Linked DNA regions of Homo sapiens: all the other regions are linked to region 3. Evidence: promoter capture Hi-C in human tissues and cell types (Jung and others, 2019). All regions are on one chromosome and are shown on one strand. Each heading gives the region's core, a stretch centred on a gene start or on the middle of the fragment in contact. The rest is flanking DNA. Distances are from core to core; before and after follow the strand shown. Region 1 overlaps ZBTB25 (zinc finger and BTB domain containing 25). Region 2 holds the start of HSPA2 (heat shock protein family A (Hsp70) member 2). Region 3 holds the start of PLEKHG3 (pleckstrin homology and RhoGEF domain containing G3). Region 4 overlaps PPP1R36 (protein phosphatase 1 regulatory subunit 36).

Region 1 (5,395 bases), core at 2,770-5,269, 210 kb before region 3:
TTCCTGAAATAGGGACAGCAGTAGAATTTACATTATAGGGCAAATACTTAGTGCTTGGGTATGGGATAAGCCTTCAATAAATTTTAGCTATTCTTTCCTTTTTCTTTTTTTTTTTTTGAGACAGAGTCTCGCTCTGTCACCCAGGCTGGAATGCAGTGGCGCGATCTCGGCTCACTGCAACCTTCACCTCATAGGTACACGCAATTCTCCTCCCTCAGCCTCCCGAGTAGCTGGGACTACAGGCGCCCACCACCATGCCTGGCTAATTTTTGTATTTTTAGTAGAGACGGGGTTTCACCATATTGGCCAGGCTGGTCTCGAACTCCTGACCTTGTGATCCGCCCACCTTGGCCTCCCAAAGTGCTGGGATTACAGGCGTGAGCCATGGCGCCCAGCCAATTTTAGCTATTCTTATTTTCATTCTTATTTTCCATTATGGATCCTACACACTGAGTTTAATTACTAATGTATAAAAAATTATTATAATTTGGCCAGGCATGGTGGCTCATGCCTGTAATCCCAGCACTTTGGGAGGCTGAGGCAGGCGGATCACCTGAGGTCAGGAGTTTGAGATCAGCCTGGCCAACATGGTGAAACCCTGCCTCTACTAAAAATACAAAAATTAACCGGGCGTGGTGGCAGGCGCCTGTAATCCCAGGTACTCGGGAGGCTGAGGCAGGAGAATCGCTTGTACCTGGGAGGCAGAGGTTGCAGTGAGCCGACACTGAACCATTGCACTCCAGCCTGGGTGACAGAGCAAGACTCTGTCGCCAAAAAAAAAAAAAAAAAAAAAAAAAAAAAAAAAAAATTATAATTTTACTTCTTAGTGTGACTCCGTAACAAAGAATTTCCAAAATGATACTATAATAAAGCTTATATAAATCACAATATTAAAAATTCTTATTTACAAAAACACATCCTTACCTTGTTTGGTGAATAAATATCATCTTGAAATAGTTAGAAAAAGCAGCAAGCACTGCTCTGTGGGCTTTGAAGTAAACATCTCCAATTGCAACTGTGCAATCACACAGAAAACCAAATTCTCGCTGCATGTTCAGCTGCTGGAGAAGAACAAGGCTATGGCTGGCAGTGTCCATTGTGGTTCTGAAAAAAAGGACAAGATAAATGTAGATAGGTGTGTATGTATATACGCATTATTTTTTATTAATACAAAATTGTCTACAGTTCACACAAACCTACAGAGTAACAAGGAGATCTAAATTTAAATGAAATTATTCAAGTTTTCAATCCTATTACTTTCACTGCAAACACGGCTAACACTAAATTCCTCCATTATGACAACTGATATAAACTCTGCTGAACCATAAAATATGACCCTTTTTCATCTGGTAAGAAGATAGCTTGGTATGAGTGACACATGAAGACAGACCTGTCCTTTTCCATCTATGTGAACACAATGTTTCTAATCTTGTTTCCTCATTAGAAAAATGAAAATGAGATACTGATTCCTGCCTCAGAGTTAAATAACTTATGTGAAAATCATGTTGTAATGGAAACTGCTATTCGATGTTAGCTATAAATGTTAATAACATAACACGGTATCCTGGCTGAGCTAGAGATGTCACTCCTCCTCAGGGATCCTCTGGTGCTCAGGGGATACTGGCTTCCCAACTCTCATCAAATGTTTGGGGGACTTATCATCACAGTAGCTCAGGAACTCTTAAAATAGATGTCAAGCCACATCCCCAATTTACTTGTGGCCCAAGAGCCTCCTGAGAAAGAACTTAAGCTGGCGCAGTGGCTCATGCCTGTAATCCCAGCACCTTGGGAGGATGAGGCAGGAGGGTTGCTTGAGCCCAGGTATTGGAGACCAACCTGAGCAATATAGTGAAACGTCATCTCCACAAAAAATAAAACAATTAGCTAGGTATGGTGGCATGCACCTGTACTCCCAACTACTTGAGGGGCTGAGGCAGGAGGATCACTTAAGACTGGGAGGTCAAGGCTGCAGTGAGCTGTGATCACACCACTGCACTCCAGCCTGGGCAACAGTGAGACTCTGTCTCAAAAACACACACACACACACAAAAGAAAGAACTGATCTCAACTGGATTCAGACGCATATTATAATGTAGGTTCCCAAAGGAAGTAAAAGGCAAGGTGGAACAACTGCGGGGAAGCCTATATGAGGAAGAACATGCAGAATTCTGGCCAAGAAGCCGAGTATAAGCAGCAAAAACATTCAGAAGTGCCCTGGTTTCAGGCAGGTGGCAGACTGTACATCATCTTCTCTACCCTACTGTGGAGAGAGCCCTGGTACTTTAGGCAGAAGGTAGCTGTAGTATAAAGGGCATCATTGGGTGGCCAGGAGAACATCCTTTGAAAGAGCAGACACTGAAAAAGAGAATGAGGTTTCCACACCAGCCAGCCAGACCAAGGTCTAAGGAGGTCAGTGATGTAATGCAGGGTTAGCCGTCTAAAGATTGGCAGTGGCTTGGGCAGCAGACAGCTAAGTGATCAGTAATATAATAAATATAGCTAACATTTTATAGTGCTTCCTATGTGTCAAAAATTAGCCAGGCACGGTGGTGCATGCTTTAGTCCCAGCTACTTGGGTGGATGTGACAGGAGGATAGCTTTAGCCAGGAAGATTGAGGCTACAGTAAGCCATGATCATGCCACTGCACTTCACCCTGGGTGACAGAGCAAGACCCTATCTCAAAAAAAAAAAAAAAAAAAAAAGGCAGACTCTATTAAAACTACATATTTAATGTACTGATGTGGAATAATCCCCAAGTTATATTATTATTATTATTATTATTATTTGAGACGGAGTTTTGCTCTTGTTGACCAGGCTGGAGTGCAACGGCTCCATCTCGGCTTACTGCAACCTCCGCCTCCTGGGTTTAAGCGATTCTCCTGCCTCAGCCTCCCAAGTAGCTGGCATTACAGGTGCCCGCCACCATGCCCAGCTAATTTTTGTATTTTTAGTAGAGACGGGAGTTCACCATGTTGGCCAGGCTGGTCTCAAACTCCTGACCTCAGGTGATCTGCCCACCTCAGCCTCCTAAAGGCATGAGCCACCGTGCCCGGCCTAACAAACTAAAAATCTGTATTGACAATTTCAGCATGTGAAAAACGTGTCTTAGAATCAATGAAATGGTTCATATTGAAGCATCTTAAACTAGCCTGATAAGTTGTCTCAAAAAAAAAAAACAAAACCAAACCCTCGGATCATAAACATTTTCACCAGTTCTTCCCATTATATTGAACTACTGAACCATAGGGAAATGAGACATAGCACACTAATAAGCCACCCATACAGGAATCTTATGGTTAATGGTCTGTTGGTAACAGTTAAATTCTTCACTTATTCAACAGATATTTTTGAAGAGCAATTTAATAAAGAAAAAATGTGTAAAAGCCTGCATTGTACAAGGCGTGGAGACAGAAAAAAATGACAAGATGCTACACTCAAGATTACAGGCTCACAGGAAAGATAAAACATCAAACCATAATTATAATATGAAATAAATGCATTCAGTAGCACAGAGCAGTTAGAGAACATGCTATCAGAGGGAGATAAACACAGGCAACTTGATGGGAAACAAGGCCAGGCAGAAAAAATAAAATGAATAAAATTACTGGGAAGAATATGAATAGTTAGATAACAGAAGGATTCAGCTTGGCATAGAAAAAAAAAGTAACAGAAATAATGAAATGTGGTCAGTTCAAAAAGCATACAGAATATAAGACTAAAAAGTAGTGTCGTGTTTGAAGTGAACTATGTAAGATGTTTGAGTAAGAACAGCATGATCAGTTAACTTACTCTGTGGGAGGGAGAACAGAGCGTGGTAGTTAAAGCTTGAACTAAAATCAGACAGCTTAAAATTTTAGCTCTGCCATTTACTAGCTGCGTGGTCTTGGCAAGACACTTAACTCTCTGGGCCTCCATTTCACTTATAAAATATGGACAATGACAGTATCTAACTTATAGGTTATTTGAATTTAATGATATAATGCACTTAGAAACAGTGGGCCCACAGTTAGTGCCTAATAAATACTAGGCATTATCATCATCACCATCATTAGGCGTGAGTAAAGACTGCTCTAACAGCAACATATAAAAAATATTAGCAAGGGAAAAGGCATGGAGAAAGACTGGCTAGGAGCCTACTATGGTATCAAAGTAATCGCAGTGGGAATGAAGGAAGGAATACAAGAGATACATCAGACACAAAACTGACATGACTTGTCACCACAGAGATCAAATCAAAGGTGAGTCTCAGAATTCCAGCTTGGGTAATTGGAAGAATTCATCCATTCCTTCAGATTACATTTTCAGAGTAACTGCCATGTGCTAGGTGTTGATATAAAGGCAGAGTCCCAGAACATTAGAGAAGAAGTACAGAAACCGTCTTGATAAGAGGTTCTGAGACCCCACCTCAAAAAAAAAAAAAAGAAGAAGAAGAATAGGGGTTTCACTTCAGACACTCTGAGCTCCAAGTGTCTACCAGGTATCTAAGTAGAAATGTTTAGTGATCAGCGGGGACAAGAAGCAGGACAGGGCTCTAGAGAGAGCAGAGCCAGAGAGGGAGAAGAGGCCTCTGAAACGACAAGGCTGAAGTAACCAAGTATGAAAATAATAAAGTAGACTAAAAAGTAGAATGAAATAAGAGGGAAAAAAGCTAAGAATGAATCTTTGGAAAACAGAAAAGACAAAATAAGACAGAGGAGGAGAAAAAAGAAAACATCGTCATTGAGGAAAGGCAATGACCTTGCAGAAAGGAGATGGCAATGGTGCAAAACACTGAAGAGAAACATGGGGGTGAGGCCCATTACAAACATGTCGAGTGTACTGACCAAAAGATTCCTGGTAACCTCTGACAATAGTACAGGAAAGCAGCAAGGGCCAAATATCTGACTGCAGGGGATATTAGAAACCAGAGGCTAGGCCAAGCGCAGTGGCCCACGCCTGTAATCCCAGCCCTTTGGGAGGACAAGGTGAGTGGACCACTTGAGGCCAGGAGTTTGAGACCAACCTGAACAACATGGTGAGACCCCGTCTCTACTCAAAATACAAAAATTAGCCAGGTGTGGTAGCACATGCCTGTAATCCCAGCTACTTGGGAGGTTGAGGCAGAAGAATCACTTGAACCCAGGAGGCAGAGGTTGCAGTGAGCTGAGATCCACTGCACTCCAGCCTGGGCAACAGAGCGAGACTCTGTCTCAAAAAAAAATAAAAAAATAAAAATAAAGAAACCAGAGGGTATAAAGCTTAGACACAGACATGACAGGACAGGACATTAAGGAAGCTGCAGATCAGAAGACCCAAACATACCTCTTCCCTTTACATATGAAAGAAACCTGGAGTAATAAACTCTGAAACTTACATAGAGCACTGAAGTTTACAGAGAACTTTCATATACAATAA
Region 2 (5,380 bases), core at 2,121-4,620, 160 kb before region 3:
TTAGTAGAGACGGGGTTTCACCATGTTGGCCAGGCTGGCCTCGAACTTCTGACAGCAAGTGATCCACCTACCGCGGCCTTTCAAAGTGCTGAAACTACAGGCATGAGCCTCCACACCCGTCCAGGAGCCCATTTATATGGGAGCCTGCTTCTAAAGATTATTACCTGGTGCCAGGGTATTTTCCAGACCTGTCCTCACATTCCTGTTAAACAGGAGGAAGTGAATCGCGCTCCTTTTCATCTACCTTCTCGGAGGGTTTATGCCTCCAATATTAACCTCAGCACAGCCAAAGAAAATCATTCCATTCCATTGAGCGGAGTCAGAAACATGACTAGGTCACGATCACAACCCCGTGTGTGCCAGGGTGACCGAGACTGGGTGACTTTATGGTGTTTCAACGTGTGGGTTTTGACTGATTATATTATGGGTTTTCCAGTCAAAAACTCAAAGCAGTGGATAAAGCACTTGCGACCTAAAATAAGCAATGGAATGAACAGGAAGGCGAAACCAGAGTTTAAAGCGGCAGGACAAACAGGAAAAAGGAAGAGTGAGGCAGGAAGGGTTTAAATGCAGGCTCCTCGGAGGACAAGTCGCCGCCACACCCCTGTCTGCCGTCCCGCCAGCCGCCCTCACGCGGCGCGGGAAAACGGTCGGCCTCGCCCTGGGCTCAGGTTCTCTCCGCCCGCCAGGCAGTGGGGTTTTTTTTTGTTTTTTTTGAGACGGAGTCTCGCTCAGTCGCCCAGGCTGGAGTGTAGTGGCGTGATCTCGGCTCACTGCAACCTCCACCTCCCGGGTTCAAGCGATTCTCCTGCCTCAGCCTCCCGAGTAGCTGAGACTACAGGCACGCGCCACCACGCCCAGCTAATTTTTGTATCTTTAGTAGAGACGGGCTTTCACCATGTTGGCCAGGATGGTCTCGATGTCTTAACGTCGTGATCCGGCCGCCTCGGCCTCCCAAGTGCTGGGATTACAGGCGTTAGCCACTGCGCCCGGCCCCAGCCAGGCAGTTTTAATCGAGCGCTCACAACCACTGAGACGCAGTGAAGCACCCACCATAAAATCCCAGGAGGCCGACCGCCGGTTCAGACTTTTTCTTTTCTTTAATCCCCGTCCAAGGGATCCGCCCTCACCCCCCACCCCAGCCACCCCAATTCCCTATTCCCTCCCCTTGGACGGCGCCGGGGAAAACAAGCTGCTCGAGCTTTATTTCTTCGGTGCAACCAACTCAGAATGAATTCCTCCGCCCCTGCGTGCTCAGTGAGTCGGCACCCTAGCAGTGAACTGCATTTAAAACCTCAGGAATTGAGCGAACTCTCCCAGTGGCTCTCCTCACCGGGATCCCCTTCCACGCCTCCTCCCCGTGCCGCGCCTCAGTCCGCACTGCTCATTGGCCGCGTGCCCTGCCAATCCGATGCACGTCGGCTAGGGCAAAGACCGCGAAAAAGCGCGTACACCTGGCTCTGGGAGCGCGCGCCTAACGCCAGCCAGCAGCAGGAGGCGCGCGAGGCACCACGGCCTGGCGGCCGAGAGTCAGGGAGGAACCTCATTTACATAACGGCCGCCCCTCTGTCTCCTGGCGGGGGCCGGAGTCCCGCCCCTCGTCCAACTTGAAATCTGTTGGGTCACGGGCCAGTCACTCCGACCTAGGCAAGCCTGTGGTGGAGCTGGAAGAGTTTGTGAGGGCGGTCCCGGGAGCGGATTGGGTCTGGGAGTTCCCAGAGGCGGCTATAAGAACCGGGAACTGGGCGCGGGGAGCTGAGTTGCTGGTAGTGCCCGTGGTGCTTGGTTCGAGGTGGCCGTTAGTTGACTCCGCGGAGTTCATCTCCCTGGTTTTCCCGTCCTAACGTCGCTCGCCTTTCAGTCAGGATGTCTGCCCGTGGCCCGGCTATCGGCATCGACCTGGGCACCACCTATTCGTGCGTCGGGGTCTTCCAACATGGCAAGGTGGAGATCATCGCCAACGACCAGGGCAATCGCACCACCCCCAGCTACGTGGCCTTCACGGACACCGAGCGCCTCATCGGCGACGCCGCCAAGAACCAGGTGGCCATGAACCCCACCAACACCATCTTCGACGCCAAGAGGCTGATTGGACGGAAATTCGAGGATGCCACAGTGCAGTCGGATATGAAACACTGGCCGTTCCGGGTGGTGAGCGAGGGAGGCAAGCCCAAAGTGCAAGTAGAGTACAAGGGGGAGACCAAGACCTTCTTCCCAGAGGAGATATCCTCCATGGTCCTCACGAAGATGAAGGAGATCGCGGAAGCCTACCTGGGGGGCAAGGTGCACAGCGCGGTCATAACGGTCCCGGCCTATTTCAACGACTCGCAGCGCCAGGCCACCAAGGACGCAGGCACCATCACGGGGCTCAATGTGCTGCGCATCATCAACGAGCCCACGGCGGCGGCCATCGCCTACGGCCTGGACAAGAAGGGCTGCGCGGGCGGCGAGAAGAACGTGCTCATCTTTGACCTGGGCGGTGGCACTTTCGACGTGTCCATCCTGACCATCGAGGATGGCATCTTCGAGGTGAAGTCCACGGCCGGCGACACCCACCTGGGCGGTGAGGACTTCGACAACCGCATGGTGAGCCACCTGGCGGAGGAGTTCAAGCGCAAGCACAAGAAGGACATTGGGCCCAACAAGCGCGCCGTGAGGCGGCTGCGCACCGCTTGCGAGCGCGCCAAGCGCACCCTGAGCTCGTCCACGCAGGCGAGCATCGAGATCGACTCGCTCTACGAGGGCGTGGACTTCTATACGTCCATCACGCGCGCCCGCTTCGAGGAGCTCAATGCCGACCTCTTTCGCGGGACCCTGGAGCCGGTGGAGAAGGCGCTGCGCGACGCCAAGCTGGACAAGGGCCAGATCCAGGAGATCGTGCTGGTGGGCGGCTCCACTCGTATCCCCAAGATCCAGAAGCTGCTGCAGGATTTCTTCAACGGCAAGGAGCTGAACAAGAGCATCAACCCCGACGAGGCGGTGGCCTATGGCGCCGCGGTGCAGGCGGCCATCCTCATCGGCGACAAATCAGAGAATGTGCAGGACCTGCTGCTACTCGACGTGACCCCGTTGTCGCTGGGCATCGAGACAGCTGGCGGTGTCATGACCCCACTCATCAAGAGGAACACCACGATCCCCACCAAGCAGACGCAGACCTTCACCACCTACTCGGACAACCAGAGCAGCGTACTGGTGCAGGTATACGAGGGCGAACGGGCCATGACCAAGGACAATAACCTGCTGGGCAAGTTCGACCTGACCGGGATTCCCCCTGCGCCTCGCGGGGTCCCCCAAATCGAGGTTACCTTCGACATTGACGCCAATGGCATCCTTAACGTTACCGCCGCCGACAAGAGCACCGGTAAGGAAAACAAAATCACCATCACCAATGACAAAGGTCGTCTGAGCAAGGACGACATTGACCGGATGGTGCAGGAGGCGGAGCGGTACAAATCGGAAGATGAGGCGAATCGCGACCGAGTCGCGGCCAAAAACGCCCTGGAGTCCTATACCTACAACATCAAGCAGACGGTGGAAGACGAGAAACTGAGGGGCAAGATTAGCGAGCAGGACAAAAACAAGATCCTCGACAAGTGTCAGGAGGTGATCAACTGGCTCGACCGAAACCAGATGGCAGAGAAAGATGAGTATGAACACAAGCAGAAAGAGCTCGAAAGAGTTTGCAACCCCATCATCAGCAAACTTTACCAAGGTGGTCCTGGCGGCGGCAGCGGCGGCGGCGGTTCAGGAGCCTCCGGGGGACCCACCATCGAAGAAGTGGACTAAGCTTGCACTCAAGTCAGCGTAAACCTCTTTGCCTTTCTCTCTCTCTCTTTTTTTTTGTTTGTTTCTTTGAAATGTCCTTGTGCCAAGTACGAGATCTATTGTTGGAAGTCTTTGGTATATGCAAATGAAAGGAGAGGTGCAACAACTTAGTTTAATTATAAAAGTTCCAAAGTTTGTTTTTTAAAAACATTATTCGAGGTTTCTCTTTAATGCATTTTGCGTGTTTGCTGACTTGAGCATTTTTGATTAGTTCGTGCATGGAGATTTGTTTGAGATGAGAAACCTTAAGTTTGCACACCTGTTCTGTAGAAGCTTGGAAACAGTAAAATATATAGGAGCTTAAATTGTTTATTTTTATGTACTACTTTAAAACTAAACTGAACATTGCAGTAATGTTAAGGACAGGTATACTTTTTGCAAACAAATGCATAAATGCAAATGTAAAGTAAAGCTGAAATTGATCTCAAAGTTACTGTCTTGGAGTTTTCAATTTTCCTTCCTTTATATTTTACCCATATTCGTCTTTTAAGATGTTAGTATGATGTGAAATTTATCTAACCAATCTTGTTTAATTCCCAGATGAGGGTGCTGCCTTGAATTCCAACAACTTAAGGGGAGAAGAATCTGGGTAAACTTCACCCACCCTTAAATACAGAAACCTGACTTGGGGTCTTCCTAGTGTACTCACACTCCTACAACTTAAGTGTCCAAATGAAAATTCACCTGAATATTCCAGGAAAATATGAGCTATATTCTGGGGTTAAATGTAAAATGAGCCTTTAACAAAAGCTGGGCAGAAGTTGTCTTATAATTGCCAAAGGAAATATGGAAACAAATTAATTTTGTGACATACAGGAGCCTGAAACAAGAGACAGCAGGCAAGCTTTCAAGTGACTTAATAGTGAGTATAAATTTAGTCAAACTTGTTTAATTTTCTAGTAAAACAGCTCAACTTCTGAGCTTATGGCAAATTCTAATAACATGTTTCCCGCAGTTAGAATTACTTGGGTAGGGAAACATAATTATTATTATTTTTTTCTGGTTTGGGGATCATAACGTTTTTGCAATACTTGCCTTAAATCACTACGATAGATTTCTTTTTTAAAAGGCAAACTGTACTAGATAGTCTTGTATTTTGTTAATATACAACTTGTCCATTTTCCTCCATATCCAATTTGAGATTGTTATAGATAAGAATATTGCAACCCTTTGGTGATCCACTATCCTGGACTTAATCTTTAAAATTCACATCCTTCAGAGAAAGGAATTCATTTTTATTTTTTAGTGAAATGACATGACTACTCTTTTCTTACTCTCTTTAAGGAGAACTTGAGAGAAATTCAGTAAAACCAATAGGAAAATGCATAGTTAACCTAATGTTTTTACTGCACATAGACGTTTTGATATCTTTCCACATGATGCAGGTTTGCTTCATGCTGCTCATAAGACAATAGTTATGAAAGCTTTATCTTCAATTTAGTAGTGGACCCATCTGTGTCATTCAGAGAGATTAATTTTATGAATAATGGAATGAGTAATAATTTTAAAACTAGCTAAGAAGTTAGCCTAAGAATACTGGCCTTTGGTAATGACC
Region 3 (5,359 bases), core at 1,567-4,066:
GAACTCTGGAAGCTTTGAGATCTCAGAGCTTGGTGGGGCTTTTCAGGTCACTTTTGAGGGGGATTTTCTCCATGTTTGAGGTTTCATTCCTCCATCCCAGCCAGGCATGGCTCCTCTGAGCCAGGAGCACAGAGCCCCAGGGAACCTTTACTAGGCTTACGTTCCCTCCCTCTCCTGAGGTCTGCCACAATAGAGCAGCTGAAATGACAGTCTGGAAATGTCCTTTATTGTGAAAACTCAATGGCTTTTGTCTCTGGGATTTGAAATTTTCATGCAAGTATTGGCAGCCAAGAATTAGGAAGGAGGAGGGGAAGAGATGGGGGAGTAAACCCTGCCACTAATTTCCATAGTGAATCATCTCAATTCTCTGTTGTCTTGGTTTTCTCATCCAAACAGTTGGGAAAATACCTCCATCTCCTCATCTCAGCTGGGGTACTGTGAAAGTGAGTTCACCTGTATTTGTTAGAACACCTTGAGATCTTGGATTAAAGGCATTGCTGAGACACAAGGTATTATAATAATAATAAATGATTTAATAGCAGGGTGAGGCCATTGCAACAAGAACTGGTAGGAAGAGGCTCCGAGCTGTGGAGGGGCTGCAGCCTGGAGCCCCTGGCCCTTGACACAGGGTTTTATTATCGGAGGAGAGACTGTGCGATTTCTCACAAACTCTTTAGATTGTTTCAGTTGAATTCAGCATTGTTTTACTGAGTGCTTCCTATATGACTTCTACCACAGGGAGATTACAATCTTTTTAGGAAGTAGGTGATATAAATTAAAACAATTATTAATAGAAACAATATATTATAATCAAGTGAATTGGGCATAACAAGTGTCAGAAAGAAACTGGAAGCAGTGATGGTGAAGGGCAGAATTCCCTGTTATGACTTCCAGGTCTACCACCCACTAGCTGTGTGACTTTGCCTCAGTTTCCTTTTCTGTTACTGCAATTGTTTTTGTAAAGTACTTAGAAGAATGGCTAATACATAGTAAGCACACTCATAGTAAGCACACACCCATCTAGGCACTTGCCCGACACTGCTTTTGCTGGTTGTGTAATCTTTGCCAAGTTGCTCCTTGCCCCTAAGCCTCAGTGTTCTGTCTGCAAGATGGGGATTAGGATATCTCCTACCTCGCAAGGTGGCTGTGAGGATCCAGGGACACAGTTTGTTAAGAGTGTAGCACAGGCCCTCTGCATGGTAAGCATTCACTAAAGGACAGTTATGACTGCCACTAACACTGTAACGTGTCCTGGCTAAGGAGTGAAGGGTCGCTCACAAGTGGCTAAGTCAGGGGGCTTCTTTGGAAGCTGGAATTTGAAGCGGACCGGAAGGCATTCGTAAGATTCAGGTGATCAGATAAGAAAGCATAAACAAAAAAAGGTGAAAGCCTGAGGTTGGAAGGGGTGACCACAAGTCCTGGAAGGCCAGAAGGGGGACTTGTCACTTCTCCCCTGGCCGGCGGGGTCTAGCGGAGCCCCAACTAAGTTGATCTATTTCCGAGCCCCTCTTCTGCAATCTCTGCTCTCACCTTCACGGTCCGCGAGTCTGGGGCTCTGCAAGCCTCCAACACACCCTCCCTCCCTAAGGAATGTGGGCCCCGCTTTCTGGGCCTGCCAGACCGAGCGCCTACCGCTTCCTCCGCAGGCAGGAGCCGGGACGCTGCCTTCACCCCACCCTCCGCCAGGATCCAGTTTCAAAGTCACCTGAAAGCCATTTCCTTCCGCGCCTGCCCCGCCTCTCCCCTCCCAGTAGATCACCTGGAGCTTGCATTTGCCCAGAGCAGCATTTTGGGGCGGGCGCTTGTTTTGTTTTAAATGATACCTCTAGAAATCGTTTGCTGTACACCTGGATAACAAATATACCCCGTGGTTCTAATATCAGCGTCCTATTCCTCCTCCCAAGGAACTAGTGATAGCGCCTAACCAGTGGGCGTTGTTCCTCTTCCGGAGCCCCACTCTGGGCTTCCCTCCTCCGGGCTTGTTGTTCTTCAGGATCTTTACTGATGAATTATTATGGGTTTTTGGATTTATGCTCTTGCTCAAAATGTATTGAATGTCTCTGTCCCCCATCCTCACCCCTTGCCCCCCAGTTTCCAGGTGTGTACCTTTCCATGCATACACGGTCATATACAGAGACATAAAGACAAACGGTTCTCTTTGTTTTATAAAAACGGGTCCTCTATCATCCAGGTTTCTGTGTTTTATTTTTCCTATTTAACAGTTCCTTGTGGAGTTGCCTTCACGTTGTCTCCTTTATCTCTTTCCCGTCAGCTTCTCAGAGGTCTGCATTTACCACTGTAAAGCGTCACAGGGACCGAGTTATGGTGAGGAATTCAAGACATGCCTTTCTGACTTGGAAAAGCGGACACGGCCGGCTCTGGTAGGATTAGGATCCCCAGATCGATCCCGGCTGGTCACTCACTTGGGAAAGCCCTCAGCCCCCTTCGCAGGGCCCGGTGTTCCCTGTCCATACAAGGGGTACGTTCTGGCAGTCCATGCTGTCTCGGGAGGCGGTGATAGCAGGTCTGTGACACCAGGGTGACCCCACCACGTGCGTCTTGGTATCCTAGAGCATCTAGGCTGCCCGGGGGTGCGCGCTCATCACCCTGCGGGCGTTAATCGTTAACCGCGCCCAGGCCTCGCCGCCGCCGCAGCCTTACCCCGGCTCTGGCTCGCCGCGCCGCGAAGGTTGCCCCGGCCCCCGCAGAGCCGCCAATTGCTGGACTGCAGCCGCGAGCTGGAGTCTCCACCCACAGGAAAAATTCCTGGCCCGCCCCTCCCTCGCTCCCTCGCTCCCTCGCTCCCTCGCTCCCTCGCTCCCTCGCTCCCTCGCTCCCTCCTGCCCTCCCGCTGCAGCTCCGGCTCCGCTCGACTTCCTGCCGGGCGCTGGCAAGCCGCGCGCTGCCTGGGGTCTCCGGGGGCCGCGCTTGCAGCTGGCCGAGTCCGGGCCAGCTGAGGGGCTGGCGGTGGGCGGGAGCGGTCGGCGGCCTCAGCCCCTTCAGAGAGCGACTTTCAAACTCGCGCCCGCGTCGCGGCAGCACCTGGGCAGCCCCGCACGCCGTGCGCGTCCCGAGCCCGCGGGGCAGCTACCGCTCGGTGAGTGTCCCCTGATTCTCCTCTCTCCCCTCTTATCTCCCTGCATTAGGCTGAGCGGCGGTGCCGGCAGTCACGCTGGGGCCCCAGTCCCTTCGCGGCCCCCGTGCCAGCCCCCTGCGGGGTGAGGACCGGGGCGACCGAGGAGGGCCTGGAACTGTGTTGGCTGCTTCCCGGGCCACCCTGCCGCAGAGTGCGCGAGCGCAGGAGGGTCGTATGGGGAGACTTTTTCTGTCTTTTTTTCCCTCCACTCCGGAAACAAAAGGGGCAAATGCGCCGGGCGGCTCCAGAGAGGCTCAGTTTGAAATCCAGGAAGCCCGCGAGGCCGCGCGCGCCCGAGGGCTGGTGTTTGGCTGGAGCTGTGGGCCTGGCGGGTGGACCCTTCTGCGCGAGGACCCGAGCCTCGGCTCCTGCCAGCCCCGGAGGCGCCTGCAGCCTGTTCCGGGTTGGCGCCGCACGGTGCTCGCTGTTGGGAATCTCGGCTACCTGTCCGGCAGGGAGGAGAGTGGGGGCCAGAAGCGGGGAGCGGAAAGCCCGGCCACCAGCTGCCTCGACCTCGTCCACTCCTGAAGTCGGTTTGGTTCTTCGCACCCCTACACCCAGCCCTTTGGTTTGGAAAGCCAGTATAAGGCGTGCAAGCTTAAATTTTTAAGGCGTTAAATAGCTACTTTGACTCTTCGGGGCGCCTTTGGAACACAAAAGGAAGAACGGAGGGGAGAATGGAATGGTTGGAGGCTGGAGAGGTGTGGCTTTTGGGGAGGGTGTTGTTAGAGGCCGCGAAAGAGTTTGATCCTCGAGGTCACTCGCTAATCTGTTGGCATATGTAGGTGCCTGTCCCCTGCTCTGGGGGCCCCAGCAGGAGACCCACACTGCGTTCACCTTACGGGGAACCCTGGAGTGGGGGTTCCCAGAGTCTCCCCAGCCGTGCCTCTGCACGCAGCCCAGTCACATGGCCCTTGCTCAAGAAATAATAAGCAGGGAGGGCAATGACAGTCCGGAGCGGGGGAGGGCCTCCCCGTTGAGCACATCGGCCACCTCGCCTTCAGCAGTGTGGTTTTCCGGGCCATCCTTTGTTGGACAAGGATGGGATCCTGAGTGATTAAACCCCAGCTGTTCCCCAGGAGGAAACTAGGGAGTGAGAACCAAAAGTGTACATTTATCTCTCTGTTATACATCTCTCCCCTGTGGTTCCGGGCTGGCCCCCTGGATGCAATGGCCTCACTTCTCCTTTCGACACCTGCTGTCCTCCACTCCCTTCCTGGAAGATAGGACAACCCATTAGCTCCCTGGGTAACTTGCCCTGGGGATGGGGCAGGAAGTTGGGGGAAGAGGTACCCAGAGGCCAAGTCCTAGCTGCTGAGGGAGTGATTTGTTGAAGAGCTGCTTTGGGGGCTTTTCTACTGCCTTTTATTAGAAGTGGCATGGCAGGGGAAGTGGAAAGAGCACTGGCCTGATAGTCCAGCACGGGTTTATGCCTGAGTTTTAGACCTGGCTCTTCTGCATAGCATGGAAGATTGGTAGAGTTGAAGAGTGCGAGTCACTTGGGCTGGGGGGCCCCTTGGATTAGCCTACTTCATTTACTCGTGAAGGCAGCAGAGCCCAGAGGGGTGAGGTGATTTCAGCCTTAGACCCTATTGGCCAAGTAGAAACCAGAGGTCAGATGTCCTCATTGTCTGATCTGTGTTTTCTCCAACATGATCTGGCCAATTCACTTATCTTTTCTGACTCAGTTTCCACATAAATAAAGTGGGATTACTTGCCTGCTCTTCCTCATAGGAGCTGTGGTGAGGATCAAAGGAAGCCTCATTTGTGGAAAGTGCTCCATAAACTCCTGTTAAAACTAAAGGGCTCACAGTGGCTCGGGAGGGAGTCTCCCAAGGGTTTTACAATTTGCTGGCTATGTCCCACGTGTGTGCCACAAGGAGACGTTAGATACCAGGAGCCATTGTTGGATGTTTAAAACACCCTGGTCTTAATATCTCAGCCCCAGAGTAAACATTTGCCTTACCAAATCCGCAGCTATCCCACGGTCACTGTTTACGCTGGAAGAGGCCAAAGGCCACGGCCTGCGGGATGACCAGGGCTGGAGGGGGAAGGCTCCTCTGTTGCAGAGGTATGCCTTGCCCGTTCTCTTCTCCCAGCTCCCAGAACCTTGTGAAGGCTCCAGCTGTAAGCCAGGGGTGCTGCCACAAGCCCAGGCCGCCCTGGCCTTGGAGGGTTAAAAGTGAAGCCCTCTGGCTATTCTCTGTTGTGTTGGGGGTTGCA
Region 4 (5,497 bases), core at 2,998-5,497, 130 kb before region 3:
AAGAAATTAAGGCTCACAGAGGTTAAATAGTTTGTTGGGGATTACGTACCATACCTAGGAGATGACATTACAGTTCCTAGGTGGAACTGATATTAGAACCCAGGTCTGTTTAACTCCAAGGCTTGTGCCTTAATCACTGTACAACATGCCCAGCACTTCCCACCAATCAACTGCACTGTTTTCCAGAGTTTATCTGTCCGTAATTAGAATTTTTAGCTTCTGAACAATTATGTATGTACTGTTTGTTTGTTTGTTTGTTTGTTTGTTTGTTTGAAACGGAGTCTTGCTCCATCAACCAAGCTGGAGTGCAGTGGCACAATCTCGGCTCACTGTAACCTCTGCCTCCCGGGTTCAAGTGATTCTCCTGCCTCAGCCTCCTGAGTAGCTGACACTACAGGCATGTGCTACCATGCCTGGCTAATTTTTTATATTTTTGGTAGGGATAGAGTTTCACCATGTTGGCCAGGCTGACCTTGAACTCCTGACCTCAGGTGATCCACCCACCTCAGCCTCCCAAAGTGCTGGGATTATAAGCCTGAGCCACCGTGCCCAGCCTGTATGTACTTTTAAACATAATATCATATGTACTTTCAAGTTACTATAATCTTCATAATTATAATTTTTAATGGTAGCATAGTTTTCCATCAAGCCAATGTGTGTGAATTGACTTACCTACTAAGAGGCAGTATATTATAGTGGTTAAGGGTACAGATTTTGATGCTTGGGTTACATCTCGTGGAAGACTCACTCATAAGTTAGGTTAATAAGCATCAAGTCCTTAAACAATACCTGACCGTATTGCTGCTCCCTTTATCCTTCTGTATTAGTCTGTTCTCATGTTTCTAATAAAGACATACCCAACTGGGTAATTTATAAAGGAAAGAGGCTTAATGGACTCACAGTTCCACATGGCTGCGGAGGCCTCACAATCATGGTGGAAGGCGAATGAGGAGCAACAGCATGTCTTACATGGTGGCAGGCAAGAAAGCATGCGCAGGGGAACACCCCTCATAAAACTATCAGATCTCATGAAACTTATTCACTATCATGAAACAGCATGGGAAAGACCCGCCACGATGATTCAGTTACCTCCCATTGGGTCCCTCCCATGACACATGGGAATTATGGGAGCTACAATTTAAGATGAGATTTGGGTGGGGACACAGCCAAACCATATCACCTTCTATTTTATATATTTTGGCAGTTTCTAATTTTTCTGATATATAAATAATGATTGCATTGAATATCCTCATGCATAAAAGTTTCCTCCTAATTTTGGATGATTTTTTTAAAAGAATAAATTTCCAGGAGAGATGATATTGGATCAAAATTTATGATAATTTCTATGGCTCTTGAAATTATTTTCAGTTTTTTTCCCCAAAGGATTATGCCAATTTTCTGTTACAAGCAATGCATAAGCGCATCCGTTTCAACAAAATTTTGTCAGCATTATTGTTTGCACTTTTAAAGAATGTGCTTTAAAAGTGAACCACTAACTGGCTTTGTATTTAAGGCAGTTTTACAAAATTAGATGAAAACAGTATGGGGGAATGGTTTCCAGACACAGAAATGTGGTGCAAACAGGCCACCTCTGCCTGGAGTTTTGTATATAGGTTAGCTTCTCTTGAGTATTTTTTTTTCATAGCTTTTTCCTTTTTTTTCCATTTCAACACATCAGTTCTTTATGTATATGTGCATATGGGGTCTAGGGACCACTTGCCTTGGAATCATTTGGGAAGATTGTTTTAAATTTCCTGGGCTAGACCCAGACTCCTGAGCCAGAATCTTGGAGAGAGGGTTGCACTGGGAATTTGCACTGTTAGCAAGTATCCCCAGTGATTCTTTCATAATTCATAGGTTTATTAAAACTTGAGAAGCATTGGCCTAAAAGCTTCAAGGCATTCCTTGGTGGCTGTAGTTTGATTTGGTTGTTTTCTACAGCAAAAGAAGAATATTAGCTACTGGCAGCTCTGGCAGAGTAGGGTGACCAGTGAGGGTGGAGCTGCTGAAGGAAACAGGCACAGGGGTGTGGCCACTGGGGTGCATCTGGAGGGGTGTGTTTGGGTTATATCCTCCATGCCATGAGGGGAAGGGGGTGTATTAAGGATAATACAGTTTGTCTTTGTATTAAGGATAATAATAACTGTTCTTGCTGACTTCATGGAGTCAGTCCAATGGTTATATCAGAAGGGGCAGTCATTTGTCCCTGTTTAGAGTAAATATCATTTGGTGTCTAGTGACACCTCACTTTTCCATAAGAGTACAACTCACTTTTCAATAACAGTACATTGGAATGTATCATCAGCAATATTTCCTACTGTATTGTATAGCAGAAACTTAAAATTTGGCTTCAGACATGCTGTAACCTAAGAACAGTTTGTCTTTGTGAAAGTTCATTTGCAATTCAATTGGAACTGCAGCTGGTTTCACAGGGAAGCAGTGTTATTGTAACTGATGCCAAAGTTCCCAGAGTAGTAGTTCACAGATGCCTTCTTAGCAAACACAGCTACACTCAAAATGGAGAGTTGGTCCTTGTTCACATGTTGAGCCCCCAAGCTCAGTAGTGACATAGGGAACGCAGGGGAAGCTGAGGTACGTAGCCTCCACGGTTGTTTTAGGAAAATAGCAGGAAAGTAGGCTGCTAACCGCCTGAGCAACCAGTATAGATAATTTGTTAATTGAGCTGTTCTATATAAATTAGGACTACCTGCATATAAAATTGAGGATACATAACATAATCTATTAAAAAAGCGAAAATAGGCCGGGTGTGGTGGTTCATGCCTGTAATCCCAGCACTTTGGGAGGCCAAGGTGGGTGGATCACTTGAGGTCGGGAGTTCAAGACCAGCCTGGCCAACATGGTGAAACCCTGTCTCTACTAAAAATACAAAAATTAGCCAGGCATGGTGGTAGGCACCTGTAATCCCAGTTACTCGGGAGGCTGAGGCAGGAGAATTCCTTGAACCCGGGAGGTGGAGGTCTCAGTGAGCCGAGTTCATGCCACTTGCACTCCAGCTTGGGCGACACAGCGAGACTCTGTCTCAAAAAAAAAAAAAAAAAAAAAAAAAAAAAAAGCAAAAATACACCATAAGCTTGAGATGCTGATTCCAATGATTAAATATGAAGGGACTTTAAGGATTTTCCTATACCATTGCTTAAATAACATAAACTCATTGGTAAGTGAAGTCTGTTGACTCACTTGTATTTCTTTCAGAATAGTTTATGGCTGGGCACACTGGCTCACGCCTGCCATCCCAACACTTTGGGAGGCCAAGGGGAGGATCACTTGAGTCCAGGAGTTCAAGATTAGCCTGGACAACAGAGTGAGACCCTGCCTCTACACAAAATAAAAAAAGATTAGCCAGGCATGGTGGCATGCGCCTATGAGGCAGGAGGATTGCTTGAGCCCTGGAGGTTGAGGCTGCAGTGAGCTGTGATCGCACCACTGCACTCCAGCCTAGGTAGCAGAGCAAGACTCTGTCTTAAAGAAAAGAAGAAAAGTTTATAATTCTGACTTTTTGCTAGTTAATATAGGCACTTATGACAATTAACCCAAATTCTCTTTTTTTTGTCCTCCCCATCAGAGGCCTTGTAGAGAAAAAAGAAATGGAATTGGTTTTAAGTGAATTAGAAGCAGCACAGAGGTACTTGGCGCAGAAGTACTGTATCCTTGTGCTGGGCTTGGCCGTGCCGGATAAGCATCACATGTGCTGTGGAAAGTAAGCAGATACTTACACTTCATTAGATCATCACTCCATCATAGACTCACATCCTTAAGATGCTTCCGTTTGACTTTTGTTACCTTGAGAAAATGTTCCTTTTTCTGTTGTCCAGAGTAATTGGGCTCAGGTGAGAATCTGTCCCAAACCCTTGTAATGTCTCCTTTGAGAGACCAAAGTGCATGTGGAAGAAATCTCAGAATCTCAGCGGATATTTTTAAAACTTTCCACTGCTTGAGATTGAATGACATGGTCTCTCAGTGAAATCTTGCTCTCAACCAGGAAGGGCTCTTGCTGCCAGACTTGGCTCCCTTGGGCAGGAGGTCTGGTGGGGCCGGTAGTGCAGGGGGATTAGGTGTCTCCCTATCCTTTTACTGCTTATTTTGCAGCAGCAACAATTGTGAGTAGGAGCTGCTGAGGTGTGGATTCTAAGATGGTTCTTTGTGGGAAGATCATTTTTACCTTAGGATGACTATTTTTACACCACTGTAATTAAAACTTAAAGAGGAGTCTCATCACAGGTTTGGGATCACAAGGTCGAACACATCAACCCTTAACTCAGAATCTCCTTCTCTGAGTTTCACAACAGGCCCCAGATCTACCTCATGGTCATAGCCAGAACAGTTTTTTTCCCCCATAGGAAAATAATTATTCCCCCCATAGGAAAAGAACCTAGTACATGATGTGTCTCTTTCTACATTCTCCACATTTTCAAAGACCAGCTTTGTCAATGAGCATACTTACACAGTTGTTGGTATATACATTTTTGTATTCTGTATTTCCTGGGTACTTTCTCTTATTATTCTGACTATGTGATTTCACTTACCACTTTGAATAGGATTCTGTTATGTAACATACATATTTGCTTAACCATTCTTTTTGTGTACATTTGCATAATTTTAGTTTTTGTGTGTTATAATATTTCTGCATTGAATATTCTTTGTTCATTTGGACTATTTCCTTATGGCTTATTTTCCACAGTATATTTACCTAGAAAGCCACAGTTTTGTAGCTCTTGATACATACTGCTAGATTGTTCTCTATAAAGGTTAAGACATTTTGGGGTTTTTTTTTTTTTTGAGACATAGTCTTGCTCTGTTGCCCAGGCTGGACTGCAGTGGCACGATCTTGGCTCACTGCAAGCCCCGCCTCCTGGGTTCACGCCATTCTCCTGTCTCAGCCTCCCAAGTAGCTGGGACTACAGGCGCCCGCCACCACGCCCAGCTAATTTTTTGTATTTTTAGTAGAGACAGGGTTTCACCATGTTAGCCAGGATGGTCTCGATCTCCTGACCTCGTGATCCACCCGCCTCGGCCTCCCAAAGTGCTGGGATTACAGGTGTGAGCCACTGCGCCTGGCCTAGTTTAAGACATTTTGTATTACCATCAGCAGTAAGTATATCTGGTTGCATTGGGTTTTATTACTTTAATATTTTTGATAGTTTAAAGGTGTATAAAAAGCTTAAAGATGTTTTATTTGACTGAGTATCTTTTTTTTTTTTTTTTTTTTGACAAAGTCTCGCTCTTGTCCCCATAGGCTGGAGTGCAATGGTGTGATCTCGGCTCACTGCAACCTCTGCCTCCCAGGTTCAAGTGATTCTCCTGTCTCGGCCTCCCGAGTAGCTGGGATTACAGGCACACACCACCATGCCTGATTAATTTTTGTATTTTTAGTAGAGATGGGGTTTCACCATATTGGTCAGGCTGGTCTCAAACTCCTGACCTCAGGTGATCCACCCACCTCAGCCTCCCAAAGTGCTGGGATTACGGGCATGAGCCA

The links. Contacts are between HindIII fragments. The study calls those that stand out against the background at their distance.
Region 1: a contact is called between a fragment that was not itself captured here and the fragment with the promoter of PLEKHG3 in region 3, in 1 of the 25 tissues and cell types used here (thymus).
Region 2: a contact is called between a fragment that was not itself captured here and the fragment with the promoter of PLEKHG3 in region 3, in 5 of the 25 tissues and cell types used here (H1 embryonic stem cells, dorsolateral prefrontal cortex, heart right ventricle and 2 more).
Region 4: a fragment that was not itself captured here is called in contact with the fragment with the promoter of PLEKHG3 in region 3 in 2 of the 25 tissues and cell types used here (dorsolateral prefrontal cortex and hippocampus).

The regions. Positions count from the first base shown.
Region 1 is chr14:64,489,437-64,494,831 of GRCh38, forward strand. ZBTB25 (zinc finger and BTB domain containing 25) reads right to left here. Exons shown (of 3, transcript NM_006977.5): 2 at 925-1,104. The coding sequence starts at 1,097. Among named protein-coding and RNA genes, the nearest start is that of ZBTB25, 12 kb to the right of the region's middle. The HindIII fragment of the contact is 3,343 bases long and covers 2,349-5,395 here.
Region 2 is chr14:64,538,984-64,544,363 of GRCh38, forward strand. It overlaps HSPA2 (heat shock protein family A (Hsp70) member 2), which reads left to right and starts at 1,758. Exons shown (of 1, transcript NM_021979.4): 1 at 1,758-4,254. The coding sequence starts at 1,867. The coding sequence ends at 3,786. HSPA2-AS1 (HSPA2 and ZBTB1 antisense RNA 1) reads right to left here and starts at 1,385. Exons shown (of 4, transcript NR_110550.1): 1 at 1,334-1,385. RefSeq lists a silencer at 1,533-1,622 and an enhancer at 1,793-1,902. The HindIII fragment of the contact is 3,177 bases long and covers 1,783-4,959 here.
Region 3 is chr14:64,701,608-64,706,966 of GRCh38, forward strand. It overlaps PLEKHG3 (pleckstrin homology and RhoGEF domain containing G3), which reads left to right and starts at 2,817. Exons shown (of 17, transcript NM_001308147.2): 1 at 2,817-3,097. RefSeq lists an enhancer at 1,096-1,597. The HindIII fragment of the contact is 6,175 bases long and covers 1-5,088 here.
Region 4 is chr14:64,570,872-64,576,368 of GRCh38, forward strand. PPP1R36 (protein phosphatase 1 regulatory subunit 36) reads left to right here. Exons shown (of 12, transcript NM_172365.3): 8 at 3,584-3,718. Among named protein-coding and RNA genes, the nearest start is that of PPP1R36, 24 kb to the left of the region's middle. RefSeq lists an enhancer at 2,275-2,811 and a silencer at 2,300-2,594. The HindIII fragment of the contact is 3,512 bases long and covers 2,492-5,497 here.